Linked DNA regions of Homo sapiens: regions 2, 3 and 4 are each linked to region 1. The links are contacts of gene promoters, found by promoter capture Hi-C in human tissues and cell types (Jung and others, 2019). All regions are on one chromosome and are shown on one strand. Each heading gives the region's core, a stretch centred on a gene start or on the middle of the fragment in contact. The rest is flanking DNA. Distances are from core to core; before and after follow the strand shown.

The links. Contacts are between HindIII fragments. The study calls those that stand out against the background at their distance.
Region 2: a fragment that was not itself captured here is called in contact with the fragment with the promoter of SCFD2 in region 1 in 2 of the 25 tissues and cell types used here (IMR-90 fibroblasts and hippocampus).
Region 3: a fragment that was not itself captured here is called in contact with the fragment with the promoter of SCFD2 in region 1 in 2 of the 25 tissues and cell types used here (aorta and mesenchymal stem cells).
Region 4: a contact is called between a fragment that was not itself captured here and the fragment with the promoter of SCFD2 in region 1, in 1 of the 25 tissues and cell types used here (IMR-90 fibroblasts).

What each region holds. Positions count from the first base shown.
Region 1 is chr4:53,364,204-53,370,136 of GRCh38, reverse strand. SCFD2 (sec1 family domain containing 2) reads left to right here and starts at 4,076. Exons shown (of 9, transcript NM_152540.4): 1 at 4,076-5,033. The coding sequence starts at 4,196. RefSeq lists enhancers at 4,111-4,160, 4,181-4,380, 4,601-4,650. The HindIII fragment of the contact is 11,346 bases long and covers 2,738-5,933 here.
Region 2 is chr4:53,494,570-53,500,543 of GRCh38, reverse strand. LNX1 (ligand of numb-protein X 1) reads left to right here. Exons shown (of 11, transcript NM_001126328.3): 5 at 1,701-1,903; 6 at 4,150-4,521. LNX1-AS1 (LNX1 antisense RNA 1) reads right to left here and starts at 467. Exons shown (of 4, transcript NR_046622.1): 1 at 417-467; 2 at 42-127. The HindIII fragment of the contact is 3,860 bases long and covers 179-4,038 here.
Region 3 is chr4:53,540,886-53,546,802 of GRCh38, reverse strand. All of the region lies in intron 2 of LNX1 (ligand of numb-protein X 1), which reads left to right. Among named protein-coding and RNA genes, the nearest start is that of LNX1-AS1, 44 kb to the right of the region's middle. The HindIII fragment of the contact is 4,819 bases long and covers 870-5,688 here.
Region 4 is chr4:53,599,500-53,604,901 of GRCh38, reverse strand. It overlaps LNX1-AS2 (LNX1 antisense RNA 2), which reads right to left. Exons shown (of 2, transcript NR_046827.1): 2 at 1-1,365. It also overlaps a transcript of LNX1 not described here. Among named protein-coding and RNA genes, the nearest start is that of LNX1-AS2, 9.2 kb to the right of the region's middle. RefSeq lists an enhancer at 2,885-3,384. The HindIII fragment of the contact is 4,237 bases long and covers 983-5,219 here.

The DNA.
Region 1 (5,933 bases), core at 2,827-5,326:
TGTTGGCCACTCTAGTCTTAAAACTTGCACCTCTCATTACTCCATTCACTGGCTTGACTTCTTCTGCCCATCAAGAAAAGTTGCTCAGAGTTCTCTCCATCACCATCATTGTCTTCTTTCTTTTTTGTGTTCTCTTAAGGCACTCTGAAGCACACCCATTTACTAATAATCCCAATTACCATATTTCTCTTCTGTATTCTGGAATCACACATCCAACAGCATGCTAGATGTTTCTGCCTCGATGTCCCACAAGCATATTGAAAACCTCATGTCCCCACACCTATTAGGATGGCCATTATCAAAAAACCCAGGAAATATCAAGTGTTGGCAAGGATGTGGAGAAATCCGAACCCCTGTGCATTATTAGTAGGAATATAAAATGTTGCAGCCTCTGTAAAAAACAAAACAAAAACAGAGGTCCATCAAGAAGTTAAAAATAGAATTATCATATGATCCAGCAATTCCACTCTGGGTCCATGTACAAAAGAACTGAAAGTAGGATTTGTAGGGAAAGAAAACCATACACCTTTAGGGAATTATTTGAAATCTGTATGTGTCACTTCCAACTATCTTATTCACCCGTGCCTCATCATTTGTCCATAGCTAGCTGCAAGAGGCTTGGAAAAGTAGTCTTTAGCTGTGTGTCTATGAGTTCAGAATAAACCTATTACTACAGAAGAAGAGACAAATAAATATTGAGGCGACCACTAGCACTTACTGGCACAATATTCAACCATGACTTCATGAGTGCCTTGCCCTTTCAGAGAAGATGAAGTATTAATTCACTCAAACTTACCTAATGAATGTATGATTCAGCATGAGATGCAAGGGGTAGAAACAAAAAGTGAGCTTGAGATCAAGATTAATGCAGGTGTTAGTAACTAGGCACTGACCTGGGTTTAAATGGAAGAGCAAGGGCTGTCATCCAACAACTTATTCAACTTAAGCTCCTTAAAATAATTTTCATGCTGACAAGGATACAAACATGTAGGAATATCTTCTTGTTTACTAGTTCAACATTTGAACTTGGGTCTGTCATTGGCCCTTTTACCTACTAGGTTCTACCAGGTTTATGACTCTTCTGCTGCATATTCAAGGTGCCATTATTCACAATAGCTAAAAGGTGGAAGCAGACCAAATGTCCATAGGCAGATGAATGGATAAACAAAATGGTGTAACATACAATGGAATGTTATTCAGCCTCAAAAAGAAAGAAAATTCTGATGCACGTTACAATATAGATTAACTTGGAGGACTTTATGCTAAGTGAAATAAGTCAATCACAACAAAACAAATACTGTATTGTTCCACTTATATGAGGTATCTAGAGTAGTCAACTACTACATTGCCAACAACTAGAGTAGTCAACTCATAGAAACAGAAAGTAGAGTGGAAGTCACCAAGGACTGTGGAGAGGGGGAATGGGGAGTTGTTGTTTAATGGGTACAGGGTTTCAGTTTTGTGAGACAAGAAGTTCAGAGATTGGTTATACAACAATGTGAATGTACTTAATGCCACCAAAATGTACATTTTACAATGGTTAAGATGGTGTGACTTTTATGTTACACTTATCTTGCCATAAGGAAACAAACAAACAAAAATATGTCCCCACTAAACTCTGTATTTATTCCGCAATCTGCTTCTCTTAATGGTTTTTCAAATCTCAATGACTGGCATTCATCAGTCATCCAGACAGAAAGCTGGGTGCTAACCTGAAATTCTCCTTCCGTGTCACCCTCTCTGTCAAACTAATAAGCAAGCCCTTTGGCACTATATTCTTAACGTCTATTCATACTCCCCACTCTGTCCATCTGCTTGTTACGCTTTTCAACTCTCTCACCCAGATTTGCTGCTGATACTATTATTTTCTTAACTGCTCCCTCTGCGCTAAATTGCTCCATTTCAAATTATTTTCCATGTTTTGACTAGAACCATTTTTTTTCTAAAATCCAGATGTGAACAAATTATTTCCATACCCCAAAATACATTAATACTTCCCCACTGGCTGCTACTACTTAGAATGGAAAATAAGGCTCTTGCTGATCTAGCCCATTTCTTTCTTTTCTAATTCCTTGCTCTTATTTCTTCTTGCGCCTTTTTTCATACAATGCACTCCAGCTATAGGAAACCCTTTGTAGTTCCAGAGAACATATTGTACTGTTTTATGCCTCTACGACTTTGTTTATGCTGCACTCTGTGCCTGGACTGCTAAGAATCCTCCTCCCCATCCTGTCCACCTGGTGAACACCTGGGTTTCTTTGAAGGCAAGTCAAAACTCATGCCCTATATGAAGCTTTTTCTGACTTCTTCCTTTTTCTCTTAGAATTTATTTTTCCTCCTTCTTGACTCCTATACAAAAAATTTTAAAAAGTATTTGCTTCTGTAACATTTTATTGCACTTGTTTTACATGTGTGGGTCCCTTTATTTCATCATAATTATTTTGAAATCAGGGCTGTGGTTTAGTTTTCTTTATATCCTTAAAACCCAGACAGTGTTTGGAATACTGTACGTATTTATTAAAAATTGGCTGGATATATTATTATGTGGAATTTTTTTTTTTTTTGAGACAGAGTCTCGCTCTGTCGCCCAGGCTGGAGTGCAGTGGTGCCATCTTGGCTCACTGCAACCTCTCCCTCCTGGGTTCAAGTGATTCTCCTGCCTCAACCTCCCGAGTAGCTGGGATTACAGGTACCTGCCACCATGTCCAGCTATTTTTTGTACTTTTAGTAGAGACGGAGCTTCACCATGTTGGCCAAGCTGGTCTTGAGCCCCTGACCTCAGGTGATCTGCCCACCTCGGCCTCCCAAAGTGTTGGGATTACAGGCATGAGCCACCGCGCCTGGCCATGGATATTAATTGAACATTCATTCAACGAACATTTATTGAACACCTGTTATAAGTGTTGGGGATACCAAGCATCTAGTGCATAATTTAGCAAAACAGATAGTTTAAAGAAAATAGTGTTAATACTTACCCCATGATATGGCAAGTACTTAGCGAATGTATCAATTGAGTGGTTTGATAGGTGGGGGAAGTGAGAGGTGATAGGGTGATAGTGGTGGTGAGTTAGAAAAAGTCTCTCACAGGCAGTACTGTTGGAATGATTATTTTCGGTAAGTTTACCAGGTAAATTCTTTGTGGATTAGGTAATGAATTTTATTAACCATTGCATCTTTGAAGCTTAGCACAGAGATTATACTTAGTAATGTAAGTATATTGGTGGAACAAACAGAACCCATAAAACATTTTGGGTTCAGCCTATTGACTTCATTGTATCGGTACAATTTTTCTCCATGTTGGGAATAGCTGGAGAGAAATTGAGAAATCAAGAAGGATGTTGATGCTTTTTAAAGAGTGTGGATGTATCCTATAGGCAACTGGGCTAGGAGAAGCTTTTAAGCAGGAAAGTTGTAGGACCAACTTTGTTTATTAGGAAGAAAATAGAATTGGAGGGTAAAGAGATCAAAAGTCAGAAAATGTTGGGAGATCATTGCCTGGGTGAGCGATGATGTTGGGTTTTTGTGACAGCAAAAATGGAGAGGAAGGGCTGAATTCTGAGAGTTTTTAAGCCTATAAGATGTAGTGACGATGAGATGAGGGAGGAAAGATGGAGAAAGTGAAAATGAGAACAACAGGGTTTGTTATGAGGCTTGTGGGCGATAACGTATGTGACAGCAATCTATAAACCCAAAATATTGCACACGGTTGTTTTTATTATCTTTTTCTAGTTGCTCTGAGTTTAGATTGAGAAGGTGGCTGTACTTTTGGAGACGTGTTCATATCTAAGGAAGATACCAAATTTCGGATTAGGTTTTTATTTCGGAGACTTTTCAAGGAACATGAGAAGATTATCTGAGAAGATTATCTGCGCAGACAGGCCGAGCGACGGAAAGAACTCAGTTCAGCTCCATCTCAGGAAACACCTGATCTCCACGAGCTTTTGAGGAAGCCCGGAGCCACAGAGCCCCACCCACTTCTTTCCCGACCGCGCCATCCTTCCTCACTCCCGGCCTCCTCTCTAGCCAATCACCGCTCAGTTTAACGTCATCACCGAGCGCCATCAGGGAGCGTGTCAGAGGCCGACCACGTGTACTGTGGAGACTGTCAAAGTCTCCCGGAGCCCAATTTCCGGAAGCGGTGAGTTCTGAAAGAAGTTCCTGCACCGTAGTTTCCCAAGTCTGCGAATCCCCAACCATGAGCGCCTCGGGCGTACTGTCCTTTACCCAGCAAGGATGGGAGCAGGTGCTGGCCAAAGTGAAACGGGCTGTGGTTTACCTGGACGCCGCCTGCGCCGAGAGCCTGCACTGGGGCTGCGGATCCACCCGTCTCCTGGAGGCGGTGGGGGGTCCTGACTGTCACCTGCGAGAGTTCGAGCCCGACGCAATTGGTGGTGGAGCCAAGCAGCCCAAGGCAGTGTTTGTGCTGAGCTGCCTGCTGAAAGGCCGGACCGTGGAGATCCTACGGGACATCATCTGCCGCAGTCACTTCCAGTATTGTGTGGTGGTCACAACCGTGAGCCACGCTGTCCACCTCACAGCTAATCATGTCCCAGCGGCGGCAGCGGCCGAGATGGAGGGGCAGCAGCCGGTGTTCGAGCAGCTGGAGGAGAAGCTGTGTGAATGGATGGGCAACATGAACTACACGGCCGAGGTGTTCCATGTCCCGTTATTGCTTGCCCCTGTTGCTCCCCACTTTGCCTTGACTCCAGCTTTTGCATCCCTTTTCCCACTGCTACCCCAGGATGTGCACCTCCTTAATAGCGCCCGACCGGACAAGAGGAAGCTGGGAAGCCTGGGTGATGTGGACTCCACTACGCTAACCCCAGAGCTGCTGCTGCAGATCAGATGCCTAGTGTCAGGCCTCAGTTCTCTGTGTGAACATTTAGGAGTACGGGAGGAGTGTTTTGCTGTAGGTTCCTTAAGTCAGGTCATCGCTGCGGATCTGGCCAATTATGCCCCTGCAAAGAACAGGAAGAAGACTGCTGCAGGCAGGGCATCAGTGGTTTTTGTGGACAGAACCCTGGATCTCACAGGTAAGTGCATTGCTCTGGAGTTCTTCATTACCATTCCCCACATTGCTGGGACTTTCATTGATTCAGCATATATTTTATTGACCTTTTATTATATATTAGATTGAGGATACAAAGATGAACTAGATGGACACGGTCTCTAATCTCACAGAGTTTATTGTCTAAAGTGGAATACAGACAGGTGAATTAGCAATTACAATAACATTTGTTAAATGCTGTAATGGGTAGAAATGTCATAAATGCCCATTGCCTTGTTAAACAACAACTTTAGCCCAAGATTATGCTGACAGGGAGGAAAACTGTGCACCTGGGAAATTTTATTTTTAGAAATTTACGAATGCCAGTATTCACAACAGTCCTTCATAAGAAGACTCTGGTTTGTTGGAGAAGTGTTAATAGATGACCCAGCGGAAGGAAAACTACTGCACAAGAAAACATAAAATTATTACAGACAATTGAGGTTTAGGAAATGAGTGTTCAAAAGTGAGGCTGAACTTAAATGTTACTAGTAAATGAGATGAAATAGAATTGTAGAAAATATTTTCAAATGTTTATTGATTTATTTTTAGCTCTCATTGTATTAAAGATTAAGTAAATAATCTCAAATTGTAATAATGTATTATTTACACAAAAGAAACAAATGTAATCCTTAAAGCAGATGAAGAAAAGACACTTTCTGATGTTTGATATGTTATTTTCAAAGGTCAACTTTATTGTTCTCTAATTAGGTTGTATAATACTGTTAGTAATATAGCCTAGCCACTTCCAAGTCCAGGGAGAATAATCGGAAAACTGACATTGGTAGGCATTCCCTTTAATCGGTCAGAAAAAAAGTTGAATTAAGTTATAAAAAACGAAATAGGTATATTTGAGTTTTTAATCTTAATAAGATTAATTTTCAGA
Region 2 (5,974 bases), core at 859-3,358, 130 kb before region 1:
AGGGAAAATGGACTAAGGTCACGGGTTTTGAAAATGCTCACAAGGAACTAGAAGCAGGCCTGCCATGTGAGATCTTTCCAGATGCCATAACGAAAGGAGACTCTTAAGGTGAGGCAGCTGTCAGCACCTACGGAAGACAGAAGCATCTCAGCCCTTTACATTCAAACTTGAGCCTCTAGCTGCTTGGAGGAGCCCCTTTTTCCACCAAGCTAGGTGTGGCTTGTTCCCATCACTTGTTGGTGTCCCCTCTGAACACTTCTATTCAAACTGAAGTGAAAAAAAAAACAATGCCAGTCGGTGCTGCTGGCTCATAGGTCCATAGAGCAAGTCCCTCATGGGCTCTGGCCTGGCTGTGAACCCCTGGCTCCAGGGATACCTGACAGAGAGTACCGGTCACAAGAACTCTGGGTTCTGACCTGGCTCTCAGGACCACCTAACTTTGGGATGTCCAGTCAGTTACTTCACTCCCCTTCTCTCAGCCTTAAACCTCCTCACTTGTAGTGTTTGACTATCACTGTCAAGCAGCAGGACAATTAGAGCAGCTGTTTTCTGTGTGGTCACAATGGGATGAAAGATGAGAAGAGAGCTAGGAGAGATTTCTTGGGGAAAGCAGATTCATCAGTTTAAAAATACAGTTTGAAAACACCAGCCTAGATGATCTTTGAATCTCCTTGCTCTGAACTCAGTGATTTCAGGCAAACCAGGGATGAACTGCTCAAGGCCACCAACTAGGCCTTGGCCTCTTCTTGATCATGAATCAGGCCTCTTCCATTTGTTAACAACAATGTCTGGTAGAAAGAACTGATGTTCCCCCAAGCCTGAAAAGCAGAGTCTTTAAGGAAGAAATTTTCAAAATTATCTGAGAGGGCAAAGTGGCAAATTGGTTCTGTTTTTTACCTCTCAATAAGCAAGCGATAAAACTGCAATTCATTCCATTAAAAATGATTCATTCACTTCTATTAATTCAGTAAACTTCAGCTGAAGGCCTCTGCATGCAGAGATATATGCAGAGAACCATGGAACAGCGAGAGTTTATGCCCTCAGGTTTTATGGGCATGATATGAGGTATATAAGAAATGAGTATAAGCTGGGAGAGGTGACTCACACCTGTAATCCCAGCACTTTGGGAGGCCGAGGTGGGTGGATCACCTGGGCTCAGGATTTCAAGACCAGCCTGGACAACATGACAAAACTCCGTCTCCACAAAAAATGTAAAAATTTGCCAGGAATGGTGGCATGTGCCTGTAGTCTTAGCTACTTGGGAGGCTGAGGTGGGAAGATCACTTGAGCTCAGGAGGCGGAGGTTGTAGTGAGACACTGCATTCCAGCCTGGGCAACAGAGTAAGACCCTGTCTCAAAAAACAGAAACAAAAACAAAAAGGTAAAAATAACAATAATGGGTTGAGTGCCATGAGAAATAGCTAGAAAGCTTTATAGGAAGTGGGCTGTTTAGAGCAAGGGAAGGAGGAATCAGGGTAGAGTTTAATTGGAAGGGCCTTGAAGGAAAAATTGGGTTTAAGCTCAGGATGAAAAACATTCCAAGCAGAGAAACTTACATTGACACAGAGGCAGGAAAATGGAAAACATGTATGAGGAAAAATGAATAGTTTAGTTTGGCTGACACTGAAGTTTGGCAAGAAGAGTAGTTGGAAAGGTCCATTGGGTGGGTGTCTTAAATAAACACTCTTTGTCCATTTCAGTCTTTCCAAGGTTGTACCACCTGATTCCAGATGGTGAAATTACCAGCATCAAGATCAATCGAGTAGATCCCAGTGAAAGCCTCTCTATTAGGCTGGTGGGAGGTAGCGAAACCCCACTGGTCCATATCATTATCCAACACATTTATCGTGATGGGGTGATCGCCAGAGACGGCCGGCTACTGCCAGGAGACATCATTCTAAAGGTAGAGACTGTGGCTGTGGGGCTGCAGCAAGGGGCTTGATATAAAAAAATGCTTCTGAGCAAACAATTGGATAGATGGATGGATGAATGAGGGAAATGGTAAAATAAATGTGGATAGTGACTTTCTATCATTTTATGACTCTCTGAGATTTGTCATTTAATTGAGATCTTTGTTTCTCTCTGTCTTGCTCTTTCACTCTCTCCCCCCTTTCTCTCTGTATATAAATATTTATCTGTCTCTATATCATTTTGTCTGTCCACTCTTCTGCCTTCTCCCTTCTAGCTTTTTCAATCTTCCTCTTCATTCCCTTTCTCCACCTCCTCTTTCTCCTTTTATCTCTTTTTTTAAAGAGCATTAATATAAAATAAAACTGGGACATATATTTTCTTAAATTGTTTTTAGAGTAGATTAATAGAACATTTTGTATTTTATTTAATCACAATCATCTACTTTTTGAAAGTCAATTTCCTATAGTCTTACGGCCCTCCCTGAAAATAAAAGTAATCTCTATGCTAATTCCACCAACCCAGAGACATACCAGGGGAGACAGGTGTTGGAATAGAATGCTTTGGGTGTTACTGTCCTCAGAGGCTTGGTTAAGGAGAAGGAGGAATTTTCAGAACAGAAAGGATAAAAAGATCTGTTTACCAGGCAGAAGTCCAATGTTTGCCAAAAGTGCCAAGAAACCCCTCCCTGCTCGTATATTTTCTATCTGACACTCAGATAACAGTTCTATCCCATCCCTTCTAGGTTGCTGAGGGACCGGCTCCTGTCACATTATGAGCTGTTTCTTTGGCAAACTGATTGGAATAAGAGGAGAAATAACCTAAAGCAGTTTTCACAGAAATACTGAAATTCCTGCTGGCCTCCGAGGTGGAGCATAAGACAGGGCCCTCGGGGCAGGCCGCAGTACAATCAGCTACACTGTGCACTGCTGCCTCCCAGTTCTAGTGGAAACTATGCTGCCTGGCAGGGTTGCATAACAAAACATTTTGATTCTTGTGGCCTTCAACTGGAGCTTACAAACAAAAGGGCTGCCAGGACTATTTAGCAGGCAACCCTGACTCCCCTGACCTTCTCTGGGCCCAGAGGTGATGGGGGAACCCGGCCCTGCCACCTCAGGTGCTCTCCTCACCTGTGCTTGGACAAAGGTGGTGAGCTTTGCCTTTGCATGAGGGAGCCTCTGGAGCTGCACCAGAGAACAGGTGATTATATCCTCAAGAAAGGCCTTTGTAAAGCCCATTCCAAGCCTTCTCTAACAATTGGCTGCAAATACAAGAAATCTTATCAAACTACAGAAATTCAAGAAAGTTATTTCTCCTCCATGGGGCCTCTTTCCTCAAACACAGAGTGCAGCAATTGCTGCGAAATTGTTTTCTTCCAACATAGGGGGCTCTGGCTGGGCCTGTGTAGCCAGAGAAATTAAAACCAGAAAGCCCCATGCAGTATCAGCCCTACACATCATTAGTGAGGCACAAATGAGAGGGCCGAGCTTAAGCTTGTTTAAGTAGCTTTATAAAGAGATCTAGCCTTTCAATAAAAGAGCCTGGAAACTTCCTTTCATATCAGTTTGTCTGAAACTGTGCAAGGATTTCTTCCTTTTGCTGAGAACATGGGCAAAAAAACCTTGCAGGGGACCACCCTGAGACCTGACACATTCCCATCCGCACACACACAGTATCACACGCACATACACTCCATCGTGCTCACACACTCAGACCCTCACTCACACACTATCACATCTACATACACACACAGTGGTGAGGACTGGAAGTTCTGGTATGAGTTGACCCAGGGAGAAAAATTCAATTGGAGATTTTTGGGAAGAAAATGTCAACTCGGCTTGAAGAGCTGTTTAATGCAATCATTTGACTGAGGCAAATGGGAAAAATGCTTTTCTTTTGCCTTTTCCTACCTTATCTTCCTTCCCTCTCTTCCTGCCAGCTAAAAAATAATGACAACAGAAATGAAGGCTAGGATTCTGGGAATAAATATGTGGGCTTGGGTAAGAACAAGGTGGAGAAAGATGGTGTCTACTCACAGAGGCCTGGAGAGGTGCTGCAGGCCACGCTTGGAGAGAACAGGGTTAGAAACGCTGTTGGAAGGTGCGGTTATTGGACACAGGATGAGGTGGGAGAGCAGAGCAGTCTTTAAAGACAGGATCCTGGCTTTTCTGTGGGCCTGGATCTTTCAGGAAGGGTTGTGGCAGGTGGAGCTGACCGCACGATTGTTCCACCTGCCCCCAGGTCAACGGGATGGACATCAGCAATGTCCCTCACAACTACGCTGTGCGTCTCCTGCGGCAGCCCTGCCAGGTGCTGTGGCTGACTGTGATGCGTGAACAGAAGTTCCGCAGCAGGAACAATGGACAGGCCCCGGATGCCTACAGACCCCGAGATGACAGCTTTCATGTGATTCTCAACAAAAGTAGCCCCGAGGAGCAGCTTGGAATAAAACTGGTGCGCAAGGTGGATGAGCCTGGGGTTTTCATCTTCAATGTGCTGGATGGCGGTGTGGCATATCGACATGGTCAGCTTGAGGAGAATGACCGTGTGTTAGCCATCAATGGACATGATCTTCGATATGGCAGCCCAGAAAGTGCGGCTCATCTGATTCAGGTGAGTCAGAGGTCATTCCAGGATCCCAGTCAGAAACCCCGGACATGAGCAAGAATGCACATCCCCCTGAACCAGGCACCCTGTCACTACCACATGTGTCATGCAGTGCCTCCCTTTCAAGGAGTCAGGATGGAAAGACCAACATTTTCAAAGCTTCTGCCCAGGTAAGAACATTACTCGGCTGGGCGTGGTGGCCCATGCCTGTAATCCCAGCACTTTGGGAGGCCGAGGCAGGTGTATCACATGAGGTCAGGAGTTCAAGGCCAGCCTGGCCAACAGGGTGAAACCCCATCTCTACTAAAAATACAAAAAATTAGCCAGGTGTGGTGGCAGGTGCCTGTAATCCTAGCTACTCAAGAGGCTGAGGCAGGAGAATCACTTGAAACTGGGAGGCGGAGGTTGCAGTGAGCTGAGATCGTGCCACTGCACTCTAGCCTGAGCAATAGAGCAAGACCCATCTTAAAAAAAAAAAAAGCTATGCCATGCATTCTCCAGGGATCCTATGGACAGAGTAAGTCTTAGTCTCCATGGCTAAGTCCAGGTGACTTCGAAAGCACTTGGAAACCCAAGTATGAACCTGAGAGGAAGCCCCCTAAGAAGAGAGGGACGCAAATTCTTGATCACTCAGGCAAGTAGAGTTCATGACTGTTCAAACTAATCCACTTTTCTGACCAGTATAATGTCATCAAGCACCTGTATGTATTTTGTTGACTTCGTCAGGGTCACTGTTGAAATTTTTTTTTCTTTAGCTTTTTTATTTTAAGATAATTATCAATTAGTATGCAATTGTAACTCACCTTCGTATTTTGAGATAATTATCAATTAATATGTAATTGTAAGAAATAATACAGAGAGATCCCATGTCTCGTTACTGTTTTTCCTAGTGTTAACATCTTGCAAAACCATAGTATGGCATCACAAGCATGCTATTGACATTAACAGTCATAACAGAAGATTTCCATCACCACAAAGATCCCTATAAAAGTTGCCTTCTATTGCCACATCCATTTCCCTCCCCGCCCCACGTCCTCCTTAACCCTTGGAAATAACTAATCTGTTTTCTATTTCTATAATTTTGAATTTCAAGAATGTTATATAAATGAAATCATATACGGACTTGGGGGACTGGCTTTTTTCACCCGGTATAATGTTCTGATAGTTTTGTGTCTCAGCGACGTTTCATAAGCTGTGAGCTTTATTCTTGGAAGAATAGACTTTGTTCTGGGCTCTTATGTTCTAACCCATTCATTCACTTCATCCAGCAAATATCTGTTAAGTTCTGCTGCTTATGTACCCCTGGGTTAGATGCAGAAATTGGAGGGAGGACCACTTAGATTATTCTTCCAAAGGATCCTCCAGTGTGGCAGGAAAGCTGGACTTTATCTAAATGACTGCCCATGCAGTCTAACACTGCTGCAATGGAAAAAATTAAGTATGATGCTGATGCAGGCGC
Region 3 (5,917 bases), core at 2,030-4,529, 180 kb before region 1:
GCTATTTAGCTCCTTGCTGCCCTCACACTGCAGCTCCTCTTTCCTATTTTCCTCCTTCCCCAGTTTGAAGAGGAAGACTGAATCCAGCTTGTTGCTTGGCTGGTGGTGTCTGTGGCCCAGAACCATAAATTTTTGAGAGCCGAAGGAGAGCTTGGAGATGATTTAGTCTAATCCCCCTATTTTATAGATGAAGAAACTAAGGCCTAATAATTTACCCAAATGACTCAGCCCTGCCAGTAACAAGCTATGTGACCTTGAACAAGTTATGACATTTTTTTGGAAATAAGAGTAAAGCATTCATCGTTTTATGATATGTGTCCTGAGGAAGCAATAAAATTGGAGCTAGTGGTTAAAATTTTAAACTACCAGCTCTAGGCAAAGCAATGACATAGAGGTGACACAGTGTGGCAAGTGACCCTGCACAGCACCCATCATGAATGCAGCATCCTCTGATGGAGTCTGACCACCTGGGCCTGCTCAGAATGGTAACATGGGATTTCCTCGACCAATTTTGAACACGTGCAGCCTGGGTCCATTTGACAGCAATAAGGCTTTATGTCTGAATATGCTCTTCCAGGGATTTTTATCTAATTCTAAGAGTTTCATATACAAAGGATGGCAGCAGAGAGGCAGGGCAGAGTTCAGTCATGAAACATTAACAAGCTTTAGCTTGTATTGATTAAAAATGTGGCCTCTGGCCCAGTGCAGTGGCTCATGCCTGTAATCTCAGTACTTTGGGAGGCTGAGGTGGGTGGATCACTTGAGGTCAGGAGTTTGAGACCAGCCTGGCCAACATGGTGAAACCCTGTCTTTACTAAAAATACAAAAATTATCTGGGCATGGTGAGGTGCACTGTACTACCAGCTACTCAGGAGGTTGAGGCGGGAGAATTGCTTGAACCTGCGAGGCAGAGGTTGTAGTGAGCTGAGATAGCACCATTGTACTCCAGCCTGGGCGACAGAGTAAGACCCTGTCTCAAAAAAAAAAAAAAAAAAAAAAATGTGGCCTCTGAAGTCATTCAAATCTGAGTACAAATCCTGGCTCATCACTGACTAGCTGTGTAACTTCAGCTAAGCTTCAAGCCTCTCATCCTTAAATCAGGTTTTAATGATGGCACCTACCTCATGGGGGTAAGAATTAAATGCAATACACAGGAAGCATTAGATGCCTGGAACATTTTAAGTGCACTATAAACATCAGAGATGAGAAATTAATGGTGATGAGAAATAAATGATCTCCTAGGAACCTTGCAGCAAATGCAATGGCTCCCCATCTCACTGATGAGAAAACTCTGATTTATTGAGGCTGAGGAAACTTCCCTAGGTAATCCAGCCAGCCTGGAATGCAGGCATCCTGATTCCAGGACTGCATCGCTACTGTGTTGTCATGGAGATGGATTTGCTTGGATGTGTTAGGTTGTTTCACACCTTTATAATTCAGTAGGGCCAGGTTGGGGGGCTGAGATGGATTCTGAAACAGAAAAGTAATTGCTTTATAGATTCAACTTTTCTGGGTAATGATTGGGTAGTTTCTCTGGCCAGTTAAAATTATGCTGAAGATGGCAGTTCCTAGTTTGTATAACTATTTTCCCATTGAAGTAGGCATAAGAGAGCAGACTACAGGAGTTCTCAAAGTCATTCTTTAAAGTGATTAGTCAGAAATATTTTTGGCTGCATGAGCTAATTGATGAAAGATTACAAAGGATCAAAGGGATCTTATTGCAAACTCATCTGGAATAATCCTTCCCTCTTAGATGCTGGTGCAGTTTTTAATAGAAAAAAGCATCTGGGTACCACTCCCTCCACCTTCGTGCAATGCAAACTCTACATAGGTCTGAGGTGTCACTGGGGACGTGCTGGTCGAGTGCATTATGATCACAAGCGGGACTCCAGAGTTAGAGCCTGGCCCTGCCAATTGCTGGCTGTGTGTCTTTGGGCAATTGCCTTAACTTCTCTGTTATGATGTCATTGCATCAACCTCATGGAGCTACTGTGAGGACTGACAGACTATATCATGCACATGCAGCCCCAGTACAGTGCCTGGCGCATGGGCATTATTGATCAGTGTCAGCTACTTACGTGTCCATCTCTGCTACTGTACAAGCCAGCTTCCTTTCTTCGCCCCCTGCACACTTTTTTCTTTAGAAAAGATTCTCGCATGGTACTGGGCAGCAGTGCTGGTGTCTTACCACTCCAGGGTCTTCCCTGAAGTACCCACCTTTTGGCCTCCTTGGGTTCTACTCAGATAGCAGCTCAACCTCATCAGGAAACTAATTCCTTTAACATCACAAAAGAAATCAGCACCTCTCAGGCCGGACATGGTGGCTCACATCTGTAATCCCAGCACTTTGGGAGGCCGAAGGGGTGGATCACCTGAGTTCAGTAGTTTGAGACTAGCCTGGCCAACACAGTGAAACCCTGTCTTTACTAAAAATGCAGAAAATTAGCCAGGCATGGTGGCATGCGCCTGTAGTCCCAGCTACTCAGGAGGCTGAGGCACGAATATTGCCTGACCTGGAAGGCAGAGGCTGCAGTGAGCTGAGATGGCACCACTGCACTCCAGCCTGGGCAACAGAGTGAGACTGTCTCAAAAAAAAAAGAGAGAGAGAGAGAGAAATCAGCACCTCTCAGGTGCTTACTAATTTCTATGTACTGCTCTCAAACACCTAGATAGTCTATTTCAGAGAATTTAAAAGCCCAATGACAGCTAGGCAGGTGTGGTGTCTAGGGTTCAAAAATAGGACAGTGAAGGTGAAGAAGACTAAGATAAAGTGTTTGTTCCATGTAACTCAGGTGTTGTTTCTTCAGTTACAAAAGACCCAGAGATGAGGTCAATGTGTGTTTGGTTTTTTCTGTTTGTTTACTGTGGTGGTGTTTTTATTGTTTTGTTTTTTTGTTTGTTTTTGTTTTTTAATCCCCCATTCAGTTGCTTAGTGTCATCTAAAGAAAGCATCATGGAGATTTGTTTTTTCTTTCCCAGTTTCTTTGGACATAAGCTGCTCTCTTCTTTCTTGGCATGGTTGACAGGGTTGAATTGAGGCATATGGATCTCAAAGGAGCCCAGTGATGTGATCCTCCTTCAAATTCTTAACATTTGTTTACCATTTAGCAAAGGCAGGGAATTTCTATTAATAAAAATAGTGGTTTACAGAAACAGATTTTCCTTGTCCAGTGAAAGTAAATTAATGTTCTGAAAAAAAAAATTGAGCAAGATATTTCCTACTTCTTGGAAGTTCTCTGTTCAGCGTTTTCTTTGTATAGTGTGATTTTTTTTTCTTCTTTTCCAAGCTAGGTAGCCTCCTGGTAGATGAATTAAGAGTTTACACTTAGGTAGCATAAAGAAAACATTCATTCCTGGGAAGAGTATAATTTAATAACAAATACTTATCAAATGTGTATGACATATCAGGCATGTTCTAGGCTGTGGGGATTCTGCAGTAAACTTATATTCCAGTGAGAGGGCAGTAAATAAGCACACATGTAGTACATCAGATGGAAATAAGTGGCATGAAATAAATAAAGCAGGTAAGGAGATGCTGTTCTACATAAGCAGGCCTTGCCAAGAAAGCAGCAGAACCCAGAAAGAAGTGAGGAAGGGAGCCAGCCATGAGGGCAACTGACCTTCGGATAACAGTAGCACACAGGACAGACGTGGTGGCTCGTTTCTGTAATTATAACACTTCGGGAGGCTGAGGCAGGAGAATTGTTTGAGCTCAGGAGTTTGAGACAAGCCTGAGCAACATAGTGAGACCCTCATCTCTATTTAAAAACAAAAGTAGCAGACAGGACAATCTGACTCCAAATCCACACCTATGAAGTGCTAATGATTCCTACAGCACAGGATTCCTGAGTAGCAAGTGAGAACCACGTTAGAGGAGCTGGCACCTGGGTGGGCTCATGACCATCAGTTCCCTCTACTTCCACTTGCTTTCCCCCTGATTTATTCCTGATGGGAGAGGGGGGTTCTTACCGGGTTAAACATCACTCTGGGTCACGTGTTCCGAATACAGATTTAAATGCAATTGCAAATGCCAATGGCCTTCTCCACCTTGACCCCTATTCTTACTCAGTGTAAATTAATGTTGAATTTTCTCATTCCGAAATTGTGTTGCCTTCTAAATTACTCCAGTCTGTTCATGTCTTTGTCATGGATTTTCTCTAATTGCAGATGTACCCATGTCTAACCTATTTTTTCCCTCCTCTTGCCTCTGTCCTCTATGGCATTCCCCACCTCAGTGTCATCCATAAATTTTGTGACACTTGCTCCTAGGTCATCAGTCAGAGTATTGATTCAGATCAATGTGATGGTGATTGTTAGGACACTCTTTGAAACACCTTCCCATGGCTGGGCTTAATGCCCCCTTAGTTTGTGATTTCTGATCATTTTCAGCTTTCTTTGGACTAACAGTGAATATAAAATCCCAAGACACTGCGCATTCAGCTCAATCCACCCCCTACCCCATCCCTTTGTATTCTTAATTACAACAACAGTATTACAATCTTTAAGATAATCTCATGAATTTGTCTGTGATCATTTAAATGCAAACTGTCCTTTGTTTATTTATCCCTGGTTTTCTGGAAACTCAATTTTACTTTCCTAATAGTTATTCCCAATTTTTCAAGCTGACAATTGCATATCTCATACACTAATTTTTCACTACCCTTTCCTTCTGTTTTCTCTCTGCATCACTATCACATGTTGTTGGCCTTGTTCCAGTCTTCTGACATCCCCCTGAGTGCAAGGTAATTTTTCAGAAATAATTATTCATTTTTACTGCACCATTGTTCAGTAAGCATATTAGTCAAATTCTATTCCCCAGGGCCATGTGTCATCTGGAGCAGCTGATTTATGCATGCTCATGTTTGCCAAATATTCCTTCACCTATTTTTTGTCCAAGCTTATCTGTGAGGGGTTTATATAATTCTCCAAATTTCACTTATTACAAAGCTATCTGAAAGTAGTTTAGCACTGCAGGGTTTAAACATTTTTATTTTAGTGTTTGCCTCTTTTACTTGTAAATCTGTGTTCCTTCAAGCTTCTTGGCCTACTTTTTTTTAATGACTCAGACTGAGCTTACAAATTTTTAAGTGATTGCTAAGTATTAAGTCGTTCTGTTTTGGCTCATGTGTATTTTTTTCTGCTGAGCTTAATTGAAACAGTCCGTTTTCTTGGCCTTATATTGTTCTTGTCTCAAGTCAGAACTATTCAGTGATCCTAAGAATTTGACACACAACTGAATAGATCCCTGCTTTTTCCATTTGATATAAATGGTTAGAATCTACACTAAAAGAATCATGAACTCTAAGTCTCTTTTAGAAAAAAAATATATATGAAATGTGCTGATTAGATCAGTCTTAGAAACTACCAAGTGTGTCATCTTCCAAAAGCATGGAACTTTCCACTATGTGAATAGTTTGGCACTAATTGTTCACACTTTTCCTTAGAGAAATAATTTTTTTCAGCCCAACCTCTTTTTTTTGACATGATCTTGCCAAGTCAGTGTAGTTTTAGAGAGCCATTTGCTGAAGTTGATTCAGTTGCTAATGGTATCCTAACTTGGTTGTTACCTCCACCCACTCACTAGAGAATCCTGAAATCACAGAACGCATTCCTGCCATTTCTTTCTTTCTTTTCTTTTCTTTCTTTTTTTTTTTTCTTTTTTTTTTGAGTTAGAGTCTCGCTCTGTCACCCAGGCTGGAGTGCAGTGGCGTGGTCTCGGCTCACTGCAAGCTCTGCCGCCCAGGTTCAAGGGATTCTCCTGCCTCAGCCTCCCAGGTAGCTGGGATTACAGGCAAGCACCAACATACCCAACTAATTTTTGTATTTTTAGAAGAGACAGGGTTTCACCATGTTGGCCAGGCTAGTCTTGAGCTCCTGACCTCAAGTGATCCGCCCGTCTCAGCCTCCCAAAGTGCTG
Region 4 (5,402 bases), core at 1,852-4,351, 240 kb before region 1:
CCCTGGAATTCTATACATATACAGCTTCATGTTTCCAGTTTTCTGCCCCTGCAGCCTCTTTTCTTGAGAAAGGTGGCCTGTGACCTGTCTTCCCCACCCAAGAGGCTCAGCTCCAATCCAAACACAAGCACAAATCCTTAGTCTTAGAAATATACCTTCTAGTTCATTATATGAGAAACAAATTAGTCTGTCTCTGACTTTGGACTGATATTCATAATTCATTTTTGGTTGCAAGAAACAAATGAAGAAACAAACGAATTGAGCCTAAGAATATTCCAGATATCAGATATCCCCCTGCACAGCCTTTGGACATCTAGTTAAACCTGGCCTGAATGCCAGTACCACAACCCATAAGAATTCGGAGCCCTCATTATAATTTCTGTAAGTTCCTGGGCTACTTCCTCTTGCTTCTTCCTGCATCCATAATCCCACATTGGCATAGGCTCTGCCAGTTCTGCTTTTTATCCAACTGGCTTTTAAGTCTAGAGAATTCATCACTTTTCTCCAAACATTCCCTTTGCCCCAAGCATTTGTGAGTATAAGGACTTGAATAACAGGTCACTTCTCTTTGGTCTCAGTTCATTTTTAACTCAAACATTCTCTATCCAGCTTAAGGAGAACATATTATGCTTGTGATAAATGAATATACAAGCTTTAGGTGCTAATATATTTCTAGTGGGGCAGCAGGGAAAGAGTAATACAAATTGTCTTCTACGAAGGGTAGAACAAAAATCAGCAGTTTGGCAACTTCAAATTGTCATCAATTTGATTAAATCACCCTCCATCCCACTACCATCTACAGGAATTATTAATAGATATGGTGACCTTAGGTTGCGGTGGAATGACTATCAGAAATCAATTGCTTTCCATTTATGAAACCATCACCAAATATTCTAGGCAATATGATAGCCCATGTAACAGTAGGTGGTTTTCAAAATATTTAATAATTGGTATAGCATAAAATATTTAATAATCAGTAGAGGCACCAACCTATCAGAACAGACTCTGACCAGTCAGAACAGATGTCAGGAGTCAATTGCTGGTACAGCCCCGATATAGTCTGGATATTTGTCCCCACCCAAATCTCATGTTGAAATGTAATCTCCAGTGTCGGAGTTGGGGCCTGGTGGGAGGTGATTAGATCATGGGGGCAGATTTCTCATGAATGATTTAGCACCATCCCCAAGGTACTGTCCTCGCAATAGTGAGTTCTTGCAAGACGTGGTTTAAAACCTCTCCCCGCGCCTCTCTTGCTCCTGCTCTTGCTATGTGATACATGGGTTCCCCTTTGCCTTCTGCCATGATTGGAAGCTTCCTGAGGCCTCATCAGAAGCTGAGCAGATGCCGGGCATCATCCTTTACAGCCTGCAGAATCATGAAGCAATTAAACCTCTTTTATTAATTAAGCAGTCACAGATATTTCCTTATACCAATGCAAGAACGGCCTAACACAAGCTCCATGGTGGACACCAGCTGCATATCCACCCTGCCTATAACCCAGCTCTGCTAATTCACATCACTTTTTACCCCAATCCTTTTCTCTTTCTCTTCCCAAATTGATTTTGTCCATTTGTGTGTTTATTTAATGAAGATGTTATTGAGTTTCCCCATGAGCTAGGAACCATGAATATGAAAATGAGTAGGTCCTCACATGCAGTGAGGAGTCGGCTCCCAAGGAAGCCCTGCAACCACCCTGGAGTCCTCCATGGCCCCACGGCCAGCACAACCAGGGCTGATTTATTTGCTGCCTTAATACAGTGACACTGTGGTGCTCTGGATCCTGGAAAACTGCTTTCCCTGATTATTAGAAACTTTGCCAATCTGAGCATTGATTTTAGAATTTTAGACTTGAAAGGGATCTTTTTAGGGATGAAGGAACTGAGGCCCAGAAAGGTCATAAGATGTCCATGAAACTCACTGTCTCTGTACTTTTGTCCTTGCCTTTTCTAGCTTCAAAAGTGGTCTCAGAGCTTCACATCTACTGTCAGTGCTAAGGCAAACTTGAAAACAGAAGAATTTTTTCAAGGCTTTGAAATTTCTATGCTTTCAGGTATATTTGGCTTGTTTTAAAATAGAGTAAAATGATATGTCATGGATGTACAGACTTTCTGTTTCCTTCACACTGAGCCCAATCCAGGTGATCAGACTGAAGCCTTGTGAACTATCACCCAACACGTGTTTTTCATTCCTTGAAACAATATCCTGATTGCCTTCCCTTGACTTGGGTCCTGTGGACTCCACTCCCCATCTCCTCAGCTACTTCATTAGTTTAGTCACCACGTGTAAAGGCCATTCAAGTGCCCTCACAGACCGCCCATTATAGGAGGTGTCACTGACAAAGGACTCAAGTGGCTGCACTCTAAAAGCCACCCCTGCATTTGCAGCAAGCCACCCTTCAAGGTGCAGCTCCTGGTCAGTGTCAGAGTGACTGAGTGCTGCAGGACCCTAAGACAGGCTTGTTCCTGAAAGTTGGGATTACTCTGACAGCTGATGTTGGCCCAGGTACAGTTCCACCTAACCTTCCCTCCTCTCCTTCACTGGTGTCAGATCGGATGGTGGTCTGACAGCTCTCCCAGCCTTTCTCAGCCTCCATCCCCTGTTGCTCACACAGGTATTTTCCCTAATCAAGTCCCTGCATATTTAATTTCGTCTTGGCATCTGTTGCTTGCAGGACCTAGAATAGATGGTGATGTCAAGGTCACAGATTTGGATCCATCCCCTTATCACTTCGGAGAGTAACTTCATTTTCACTACCTTGGGTTTCTGCACAGACAGATCCTAGTTTCTATTTCTCACTCTGTCCCTATTTCTATCACACCAGTAGAACCATAAGGCTAACTGACAAGAAGCCATTTTTGATGTTTTATGAAATTTCATGGGATCATTTCCAGGGGAGGACAATGGTGCTGACTGGAGAAGTCAGTCACGTGAGCAGGGGTGAGGAGGGTTGGTGGTATAGATTCTACAGAATGGGGTGGTATGCAGAAGAGGGGATGCAGGGCAGGGAGAAACAGCAGTAACCAGTTTGGAGAGTTTGACTTTGAGATGACTGGCAGCTTCAGAGTGACCTGCAGTGACCCCTGGCATGTGGTTCCTTATTCCTTTATCCTGGAGAAGATGCCATCTTGAGATGAGTTGAAAGTAGAGCTGGAGCCTCATAGATCTCCTAGCTTCGAATTCAGATGAGTTGGTGTGTGCAGCTGCCTCTAGGGGGCACAGATGAGGAGGGGACATACCTAGCACAGCTGCTGTCTCTTCTGCCAAACCCCCGCAGCCACATGGCATTGAGGAGTTAGCATCCCAGGGGACAATGGGCTTGCTACCAGGCTCACGCAGTTGTCACAGCTGCTGCGAGTTTATGGGCAGGTGGCCAGAACGCGAACAGTGTTGGTCCAGGTGCAGCCTAATCACTTAGAAGGACTGGCCATCGTGGCAAGACACTTAGTGAGAGTCACCCAATGTGGGGGTGCGAGCATACCCATGGCAGAACTTGTCAAAGCTGCATTTCCTGTCCACCCCCTGGGCAGACTCAGCGAAAGTGGGAGAGGGGTGGACCATGCCACTTCAGGGGGACAGCCACAACTGGAAGGACCAGTCTGGCCACCCTGGGCTGATGGCTGGCACTGATATGGACAAAGACTCAAATTAAGACATCACAAACAAGGAACTTAGGGATCCCCGGTCTAGTTAATAACACTTCTCCTAACTCCTAAACCTCCATATTCATAAAACTGAGTGGAATATATTTAAATACAAAATGCAAGCCTCTTCTCAGATATTTTCCTTCCCTCCCCCCCTCCCTCCCTCCCTTTCTTTCTTTCTTTCTTGCAGAATCTTCCTCTGTCCCCCAGGCTGGAGTGCAGTGGTGCCATCTTGGCTCACTGCAACCTCGGCCTCCCGGGTTCAAGTGATTCTCCTGCTTCAGCCTCCTGAGTAGCTGGGATTACAGGCGCCCACTGCCACGCCTGGCTAAATTTTGTATTTTTAGTAGAGATGGGGTTTCATTAGCCAGGTGTGGTGGTGGGCACCTGTAATCCCAGCTACTCAGGAGGCTGAGGCAGGAAAATCGCTTGAACCCAGGAGCTGGAGGTTGCAGTGAGCCAAGATTGCACCACTGCACTCCAGCCTTGGCAACAGAGCGAGACTCTGTCTCAAAAATTGAAAAAATAAAAATAAAAATAAAAATAAAAAAACAGAGGCCGTCCATCCAGGTTCATGTCCAAGTTAAAAAGGGGTGTCTTCACATGCTCGTGATTTGAGAAAAGTCAAATGAACTTCCCCTATTATTATATTGAGACCCTGTTAGTCGGAATCTGACTGAGAGTCCTTCTCTCTGGTAATAGTGAGTGGTTTTCATGATATTCTCTTTCTTGTATTCTTTAATTTAAGATAAATAAAGGGATGAGCTCCTTGGCCATAATCTGTGTTTTTGAGGGCCTGCCCTTTCTTGGAAGCAAAAGTTCCTGGGAAGGAAAACACTTTCCCACCTAGAAAGTTGGCTTCTCCTGTGCTTCTCGTACCTGAGTAGGCCAGCAAAACAATTCTCCTCTGGCTTTTGCCTTTCCCACTCCATTCCCTACTAGGACTTTTTTTTGTGTGCATGTGTCCTCGAGTCACTTTATGTTACTAGTTATTATGAATTTTCAACCCCTTTGGGAAAAAGTTTGAAGAATTTGGGCTCTTAGAGGACAGAGTACTCTATTGGACAGCATAAAAAACAGCAAGTGCGTGGAGGATTGATGTGAGGAAAATAGTAATTTGCTCCTATCCACTGAGCACTGACTATATAAAAATAGAATTAACAGGGATTTAAATAATACAACACTTAAAAAGCATATGGTATTGGGGAGAGGGGCCTTTTTAAAAAGGTTACTGAGCTGCCAACTCTACCTTAAAGGAATTTTAAATTCATCTAAACAGCTACAGATGTTACTGTCACCTGCTGAGCACAGATCTTTTTCAAGTTCTTCCCAAGGTGCAATGCCAGCCAGCCCTGACTGTGGGCACGAAACTGAGACCATATCTGAAATATACATAGTCTTTCTACCCACTCAGAGCAGCTGCCTCTACATTTGTGCAAATTCTAAAGCTATAAGAGGTATAGGTTTTCTCGGGTGACATACATAGAATCTGAAAGTGTGCTTCAGTCTTGGTTCCCATGAGCCTCCTCTGCCTGGCCCTTCATGGATAAGAGCCAAGATAAGGCTGTGGGGGACCTGGGAAAATCATGGGCTCTATAGTCAACTGGCACTGTTACAGGAAAGGGGTCCCGATCCAGACCCCAAGAGAGGGTTCTTGGATCTTGTGCAAGAAAGAATTCAGGATGAGTCCACAGAGTAAAGTGAAAGCAAGTTTATTAAGAAAGTAGAGGAATAAAAGAACGGCTACTCCATAGACAGAGC